Linked DNA regions of Homo sapiens: region 2 is linked to region 1. The links are contacts of gene promoters, found by promoter capture Hi-C in human tissues and cell types (Jung and others, 2019). All regions are on one chromosome and are shown on one strand. Each heading gives the region's core, a stretch centred on a gene start or on the middle of the fragment in contact. The rest is flanking DNA. Distances are from core to core; before and after follow the strand shown. Region 1 holds the start of ANKDD1A (ankyrin repeat and death domain containing 1A). Region 2 overlaps CSNK1G1 (casein kinase 1 gamma 1).

The links. The method cuts DNA at HindIII sites, captures the fragments that hold promoters and counts their contacts. A contact is called where the count stands out against the background at its distance.
Region 2: a fragment that was not itself captured here is called in contact with the fragment with the promoter of ANKDD1A in region 1 in 1 of the 25 tissues and cell types used here (dorsolateral prefrontal cortex).

The regions. Positions count from the first base shown.
Region 1 is chr15:64,909,298-64,913,554 of GRCh38, reverse strand. It overlaps ANKDD1A (ankyrin repeat and death domain containing 1A), which reads right to left and starts at 1,653. Exons shown (of 15, transcript NM_182703.6): 1 at 1,591-1,653. The coding sequence starts at 1,624. RefSeq lists an enhancer at 898-1,441 and silencers at 1,628-1,807, 2,008-2,057, 2,131-2,425. The HindIII fragment of the contact is 17,737 bases long and covers 1-4,257 here.
Region 2 is chr15:64,273,678-64,278,288 of GRCh38, reverse strand. All of the region lies in intron 2 of CSNK1G1 (casein kinase 1 gamma 1), which reads left to right. Among named protein-coding and RNA genes, the nearest start is that of CSNK1G1, 80 kb to the left of the region's middle. The HindIII fragment of the contact is 3,728 bases long and covers 381-4,108 here.

The sequences.
Region 1 (4,257 bases), core at 404-2,903:
CTAGCTGTGTTAGGCAGTTTCCTCATCTGCAAAACAGGAGTGCGAGCTTCCCTACAAGGTTAATATCATGATTAGAAATGAGATATGAAAACCCCCTGGCACAGTGTCTGGCACATAATGACCACACCGCCACCACCACCACCATCATCATCACTATTATTCCTCCAAGGCAAAGGGTCAAATTCTGGTAGCCAAAGAGAGCTGCCACTTCAGATGTGAGCTTACAGAGGCCTGGGTTCTAGTACCTTCCCTGCCACTTTCCAGCAGCAGGATCCTGGGCTAGTCACATCCCCCTTGTAGGTCTGTTTCTTCCATTGTAAAACTGGGGGAGGGTGAAGAAAGAGATCTGTATAGGTCCCTTCCTGTCTGGCACCCTCTATCTTATGTGCAGCTTAGGGGGATTGGCCTGGTTTGTATTGGCAAACAGCCAGGAGTTCCAATGGGAAGCCAGCAGACACTGCATAGGGTCAGGCCAGAGAAGGTTAAGTTAGAATGAAATCAAGTCCAGTCTCATCTCTTCCATCCACCTCCCATCCGGCACCCTCTTTCTGGCCACATCCAATACCCACTGAGCTACCTGAGCCTTTGCCCATGCTGGGTCTTTGTCCAGAATTCTCTGCCACACACCCCAATGCTCCATTGGTACACATTCTTCGCAGGCCCACTCAAGTGATCCTCCGCCCCAGGCAGAACCATGTACCTAATCTTGATTGAGCATTCCCACCCCCAACACATCCCTCAGCTGAGTAGATGCAGTGTGCCAGCATTTTGGACACTATAGGTCTCAAAGGAATCCAGTGAGCTGCACTATGCGCTTTTGAGGGAAAGCCCCGGGATTCAGCTGTCAGGATTCAGCCAGGGCTGCAGGATCAAGGACTCACAGTGCAGACACCGACACAATCTTTCTCTCCCCTCTCCCAGACGGTGCAGCCAAAGCTGCCCCAGGCCAGCTGATGCCCACACAGACGCTGCTGCCCGGCCTAGAGGCCCTGGCACTGGGCGCACTCCTTGAGGGAGGTTCGGAGGTGCCCTCATTCCACCTGTGGCCAGTCAGGCTCCTCTCCTCTGAGTGCGTGCCCCATCTGATGCGGTCTCCACTCGCTATCCAGCCCCAGCATTCCGGGTGAGCTGGGCCCTTCAGCACTTCTACCACTCAATGGCTGTGTGACCTTGAACAACTCATTTGAACACCCTGTGCCTCAGTTTCTCATCTGCGAAATGAAGATAACATAATGTCCTACCCATATGGCCGCAGCGAAGATCAAATGACGTGCCTCTCCTGGGTCAAGGCCTGGCACACAAAGTACAGCACGCAGTCAAGGATCGCTATTACCTTTATTATTTGTAGCTAACCTCTCAGCCGCTGCTCCCCGCTCACCTGGCGGGTGTGGTCCCCGAGTCCCAGACGCACTGGCAAGGTCCCCTCGGCCCAGTGCGCGGACCGGTAACCATTCCGCTCGGAGCCACACAGACGCCCCACACGGAGGTGGCCGTTCGGAGGGCGCCAACCTCACCCCTGGCACTCCCCAAACGGATGCGGGGGTCCTCTCGGCCTCGGCCCGCCCCCCTCCCTCCTCCAGGCAGACTCACGGCCGTCGGTCTCCCACGCCAGCTCCTCCTGCATCCTGCCGCTCCGCAGCCCCTGCGCGCGCTGGTGCCCGGGCGCGAGGCGCGCGTCCGCCGGGGCGGGGCCCGGGGAGCCGAGAGGACGGGGCGGTCGCTCCTCCAGACTCCACGCCCCGCCTGCTAGGAGCGCAGCTGCCCCGGCCACCCCAGTCCCGGACCAGGACGCAGGTCCCTCCTCCTGCTCTCTTAACCTGCCCACCCCTCCGCGCCCGAGGCCGGCGGGTCGGGGCCACGCCGAGTTCCGCAGGTGTCCCTGACCCAGTCTCCTCCCCGGGAGTTCGCCCAGCCTCCCCGGCCCTGGAGATAGATGCGCACAAGGCATCTGGCAGGCTCATCCTCCTCGCGCCTCTCGGGACTCGGGGAGGAGGGCTGAGCCTTGGGCCCGCCGCCTCAGGCGCAGAAAGTCAAACCCCAAAGATGTGAGCTGGCGTTTAAGGGACCACAACCTCAGCAGGTCTGCAAGCATATGAAGAGATGGTCGGATTTATCAGTGTTCAGAAAGATTTATCAGGCCCATAAAGGGACATGTAGGAGGATGTTGGTTGCTGTGTTGCTGTGGTTGCTGGGAGTTGGAGACAATCTAAGCGCCCTTTCTTGTAAGAGCAGATGGATAAACTGTGCAGCACTCAAAGCAAGGGACCCGCTGTATTCGTGGCAATATGGATTTAAACACCTAGTGCTAGGCAGAAAAAGTAAATAACCAAACCAAATAAGACCTAGGAAACAATATCAATAAAAATATTACAAATGCATTTACATCAAACAACACAGACTTGCAAAGACACATAGAAACAAAAAGATACACATTAAATACACCAGAATGGGTTGCACTTCAGACCCTTGGGGGATGTCCATGTCCTTTTTGCCTTAAAGGCATTTACAGCTTCTTTGAATTTAGGGATAATGGGGTCTCAGGCATCTCTATCCCAAGGCAAGAAGCCAGCAAAGCCATGATAGGTGTAGTTACTACTACTTTGGGGATCAAAGGAGGAAGAGCATCTTTCAGTCATTAGTCCTTAGAATATAGTTCAAGAAGGCTTCCTGAAGAAGGAGGTATTTGGAATGGCCTTTGAAAAATAACATAATGATAACAGCTAACAATTAATGAGCCCTGAGCCAACCCCTCAAAATGGTCTCAAAATAACAATTCCAACATAATAATCAAAGATATGATTTTTTTTTTTCTGAGACAGAGTCTCACTCTTTCGCCCAGGCTGGAGTACAGTGGTATGATCTCGGCTCACTGCAACCTCTGCCTCCTGGGTTCAAGCAGTTCTCCTGCCTCAGCCTCCCATGTAGCTAGGATTACAGGCACTCGCCCCCACACCTGGATAATTTTGTATTTTTAGTAGAGATGGGGTTTCACTATGTTGGTCAGGCTGGTGTTGAACTCCTGACCTCAGGTGATCCACCTACCTTGGCCTCCCAAAGTGTTGGGATTACAGGTGTGAGCCACTGCGCCGCACCCCCCCCTTTTTGTTTTTGTTTTTTTTTTAAGACAGAGTCTCACTGTGTTGCCCAAGCTGGAGTGCAGTAGCGTAATCTCAGCTCACTGCAACCTCTGCCTCCCAGGTTCAAGCGATTCTCATGCCTAAACCTCCCAAGTAGCTGGGACTACAGGTGTGTGCCACCACACGCGGCTGATTTTTGTATTTTTAGTAGAGACGGGGGTTTCACCATGTTGGCCAGGCTGGCCTCGAACTCCTGACCTCAGGTGATCTACCCACCTAGGTCTCCCAAAGTGCTTGGCCACCACGCCTAGCCAAAGATATTATTCCTGAAAACAGTTTAAATGTTTTTTGTAAAGCTTTTGTCACATGTACATCCCACTAGGGGCATAGTGTCACGTTACTGTTTTAGTCACTTGGAATAGTTCTTTATGTGGTTATGCCACCAACTCAACATGCATGGTTTATTTATTTTGTTTTGCTTTTGTTTTTTGATATTTTTAAATGTTAATTTTGCTTTACAATTATGTAAAGTATTTACATGTTTCAAAGTTAAGTCTCTGAAGGTTGTCATAGTCAGCTGTGGTGATGGATGAAGAGGGCACCACTGGCTTCCAGCCTGCTGTCACTCTCCTTCACTCCACATCCAGCTTTTCTTCCCAGCTGCTGAGCCTGCTGACCAACAGTGGCCCCAGGCCATCGCGGACTTGGCTGCAGACCCAGGGCATTAGTACCACCCATAGACCTCCCCAGGAGCTTTCCCTTGTGGTTCCATTTTAGCAGCTGGACATACTTGGTTTCTCAGATGACTGACTAAGGACTCCTCTGATCCCCAACTCCCCTTCTGGTCCTTCCGCAACTGTGTAAGGCAAATTACTATCACAGATCCCTAATCCCAGGGGTCTCCAACCCCCAGGCTTCAGACTAGTACTGGTCTATGGCCTGTTAGGAACTGGGCCACACAGCAGGAGGTGAGCAGCAGGAGAGCGAGCATTACCACCTGAGCTCCGCATCCTGAAAGATCAGTGGTGGCATTAGATTCTCATAGAAGGGTGAACCCTATTGTGAACTGTGCATGTGAGGAATCTAGGTTGCACACTTCTTTTTTTTTTTTTTGAGATGGAGTTTTGCTCTTGTTGCCCAGGCTGGAGTGCAATGGCTCACTGCAATCTCTGCCTCCCGG
Region 2 (4,611 bases), core at 995-3,494, 640 kb after region 1:
GATTACCTGAGGTCAGTAGTTTGAGACAAGCCTGGCCAACATGGCAAAACCCTGTCTCTACTAAAAATACAAAAATTAGCCAAGAGTGGTGGTGGGCACGTGTAATCCCAGCTACTCGGGAGGCCGAGGTGGGAGAATTGCTTGAAACCGGCGGGGCAGAGGTTGCAGTGAGCTGTGATTGCACCACTGCACTCCAGCCTGGGCAACAGAGTGAGACTCCATCTCAAAAAATATATATATTTTAATAGATAATAAAATAATATTAATATATTATTCAAATATATCAATATTAATATATTATTCGAATATATCAATATTAATATATTATTCAACTATATCAATATTAATATATTATTAAATATATCAATATTATTATTAAATATATCAATATCAATATATTAAATATATCAATATTATTATTAAATATATCAATATTATTATTAAATATATCAATATTATTATTAAATATATCAATATTAATATATTAAATATATCAATATTAATATATTATTAAATATATCAATATTGCTATATTATTAAATATATCAATATTAATATATTATTAAATATATCAATATTAATATATTATTAAATATATCAATATTGCTATATTATTAAATATATCAATATTGCTATATTATTAAATATATTAATATTAATATATTAAATATACCAATATTAATATATTATTAAATATATTAATATTAATATATTTATTATATTAAATTTTATTATTTTAATATTAATAACAATATGAAAACTTGTAGCAGGGGTAAAAGTGTGTGTATATGTATTATTTTATGTATGTACATATGAATGAATGAATGACAGGGTCTCACTCTGTTGCCCAGGCTGGAGTGCAGTGGTGCAATCACAGGTCACTGTAACCTTGAACTCCTGGACTCAAAGGATCCTCCCATCTCAGCCTCCCAAGTAGCTAGGGCTGAAGGGTGCACCACAATGCCTGGCTAATTATTTAATTTTTTTGTGGAGGCAGAGTCTCACTTTGTTGCCTAGGCTGATCTCAAACCCCTGGCCTCAAGTGATTCTCTCACCTTGACCTCCCAAAGTTTTTGGATTACAGGTTTGTGCCACAGCACCCAGCCTCCAACTTTATTAATAACATCTATATTTCCTCTCAAAACTTGCATCACTGTCTAGAATAGAGGTCTATATTCTTATTGGCAGGAAAATATATTTGACTATTTTGTCTAATGATCAAGTTCAAGTCACTGACGTTGCATGGTTCTAGTTCTTCCGGAATTGATTGCTTTACCTTGAACTCTGTTCATGATTGTTTTTTCACTTTCAACTATTTTCTTTTTCTTTTTTTTTTTTTTTTGAGATGGAGTCTCGCTCTGTCACCCAGGCTGGAGTGCACTGGTGCGATCTTGGCTCACTGCAAGCTCTGCCTCCCGGGTTCACACCATTCTCCTGCCTCAGCCTCTCAAGTAGCTGGGACTACAGGTGCCCGCCACTACCACCAGCTAATTTTTTTGTATTTTTTATTAGAGACAGGGTTTCACTGTGTTAGCCAGGATGGTCTCGATCTCCTGACCTCGTGATCCACCTGCCTCGGCCTCCCAAAGTGCTGGGATTACAGGCGTGAGCCACCGTGCCCAGCCTCAACTCTTTTATTTTTCAAAGGACTGTTGTACCTTTTTTTTCCTACCTGGGTGGCTGAAATATCTCATTGGTACGTCACTCTTTTTCATTTTCATGGGTTCCCATTTGACCTTTTAATTTTCCACATTCATATTCTAGAGGTCTTCAAATAATAAATGATCCGTCTGTTCTGAAAAAGTACTTCAATTCTGTTTCAGACCCATAATGAAATATTTACTGATAAAATGATGTAACATCTGAGATTTGTTTCAAAATAATAAAGTTACTGAAATTGGGTAGGTTACATGGGGGAAAATCATATGCCTTTGAAGTTATGCATAAAAATTTTAAAAATACAAAAATACTTTGGTATTTCTCTGCTGCAGAAAATCATACTTTCTAGAATGATTCACTCCAGTTTTTCTGCCCACCACTATAATATAGAACATTTTACAAATTTTCTTTGTAAAGCATAGGCCCTTGAAAGTACATAGACACTTTCTGAAAAATGGAGTATGAGTCCTGCTTTGATGCTATTTATAAATGACTTTCAACTTCTCCCTTTCTTTTGGCCCTGGCTGCCTTTTACCTCACTCCACGTAGCCTCACTTTAGACTTTCAGATGTTAGAAGCACTCTCATTTTTCTTACTAACAGATTAATCAGAATATCATGTGTAATACCTTAGGAAAGTTATATAGAAACTAGTCCAGCCACTGACCAGCTTTTCATTGCAAAATGAAATAATTGAAACTGCTTTTTAGAAGATTTTTATTGATGGCTCTTATTATTCTTTGATCATAACTCACACTAAAAAAATTGTGATTTAATATACACATAGTTAATATCTGTGTATATGAAGTTTCATGAAATAATATTTTATCCTTACTGAGTATAATGTACTCTGATACTTTTTATTTTATATATTTTTTCTTTAAAAAATTTGGTCAAGACATTCTTTAAAATCAATATTTGAATGTATTTACTTTATATCCCACTAATGGATCATGTTCTACACTTTAGAAAACATTTGAGCATTGTCTGTCTTGTTAATAATAAACATGCTGTATATACCATCCCAGTGATATTAAGCTTTAATAAGTTTTTCTTTTATTATAATGTACTTATTGTTGTTGATAGGTAAGCCCTTTAAAAAACTTGACACAAGAAAAAATTATTCTTGCCTTAACTACTAATCATTTGGGAAATGTTTCTGCATAGTATACTAATATTTTAATACTATTAAGTTAGTAAAAGTGAAAACATTATCTGCTTTTTTTCTTTAGAGTTGTATTGCTATCGTTATCTTCTTACCCCTAATCATACTGCTCACTTAAAGAGATGCTCTTTGGGCCGGGCAAGATGGCTCATGCCTCCCAGCACTTTGGGAGGCCCAGACGGGAGGCTCACCTGAGGTCAGGAGTTTGAGACCAGCCTGGCAACAAGGTGAAACCCATCTCTACTAAAATACAAAAGTTGGTTGGGTGTGGTGGCATGCACCTGTAATCCCAGTTACTCGGGAGGCAGAGGCAGGAGAATTGCTTGAACCTGGGAGGCAGAGTTTCAGTGAGCCAAGATCATGCCACTGCACTCCAGCCTGGGCAACATAGCAAGACTGTGTCTCCACAAAAAGAAGAGATGCTTTTTGGGTGGAGGTGGCAATAGGCCAACCTGTCCTCTTTGCCCTAAATAGACATGGTAATCATCTGAGTTATATAAAAGTAGTTACTTGTTTTAACTACTAATTGCCTCAAGTTCATTTGGCTGGATTTTTTACAAGTTCTAGGTAGTAATTTATACATGTACTATTTTCACTGAAGGGCAAGAAAATGTGACAGCTGGAGCTCTAACTAAACAGACTGTATGTTCCTTTATCAGTATGGCTCTGAGAACTGAGAACTCCTAGTTCTTTGAAATAATGCAGTGTCTGATGAAGCTTACGGTGAATGTTGTCTCTGTAGGTGACTTACAGAAACAGGAAGTCTTCATGCAGAGGGTTTTATGGACAGCATCACATCCAGGACTGCTGCTTTGAAAGGGCTGAGTTTAAATATAAAGCTCCAAAAACTACTGTGTAATGCAGTTCCTTTTCTATTAAGAATAAAGGAACCAATAGCCAGGAAGTGAGCTTGGGAAGCGTTGTGGATTTTGTGCAACAGATACTAAAAGCTTTCAGTGCTTGGGATTGTGCCAGCTCATCAATGGTACTTTTCTGTCCATTAAATGGCTTTCCTTCCTCATAGTTATTGGTATGCTTTTATTTTTATTTTTTTAGCTGAAGCAGTTATTTATTTTAAATGGGCAGGGTTTTAACATAATCTTTGTAATTAAATTCATCTGGAGCAAAATTTTTGAGTACTGTGTATTATTTAGGATAGTGGCTGAGTGATTGTCTAAATTTCTGAAACATGGCTGCATTTTGTGTTGACCTGTAAAATTTTAATGATGCATTTGTGCCCTTGCAAAGAAATTCATTTGAGGCAATGCTTAGCTCAGGAGACTTATCAAGTCACCTCCAGTGCCTCTTAAGAAAAAGGGTAACATGTATTTGATTCTTTTGGTGCCCTTAGAGAAATTAAGTAAACGCAAGCTAGCATTTTGTGATGTATCAGCCACTATGTTGGGTGTTACATAGGCTTGTCTCACTTATTATACTTCTGTGATTATACTCTTTTATATACATGTGAAAATAGAAGCTAAGAAGCATTTTATAATTTGTCTATCACTTTTAGGTTTAGTGAGAATTTGCAGGAATGCATCATAGTAGCGTGGAATGATATTGTTTACTCTCCTAACTAAGTCTGTTCTCCGCTAATTAAGAGCATCATTTAGACCAAGCTTGTTCAACCTGTGGCCTGTGGGCCACGTGTGGCCCAGGACAGCCTTGAATGCAGCCCAACACAAAATTGCAAACTCTCTTAAAACATTATGTGATTTTTTTTTTTTTTTTTTTTAGCTCATCAGCTTTTGTTAGTGTTCATGTATTTTATGTGTGGCCCAAGACAAT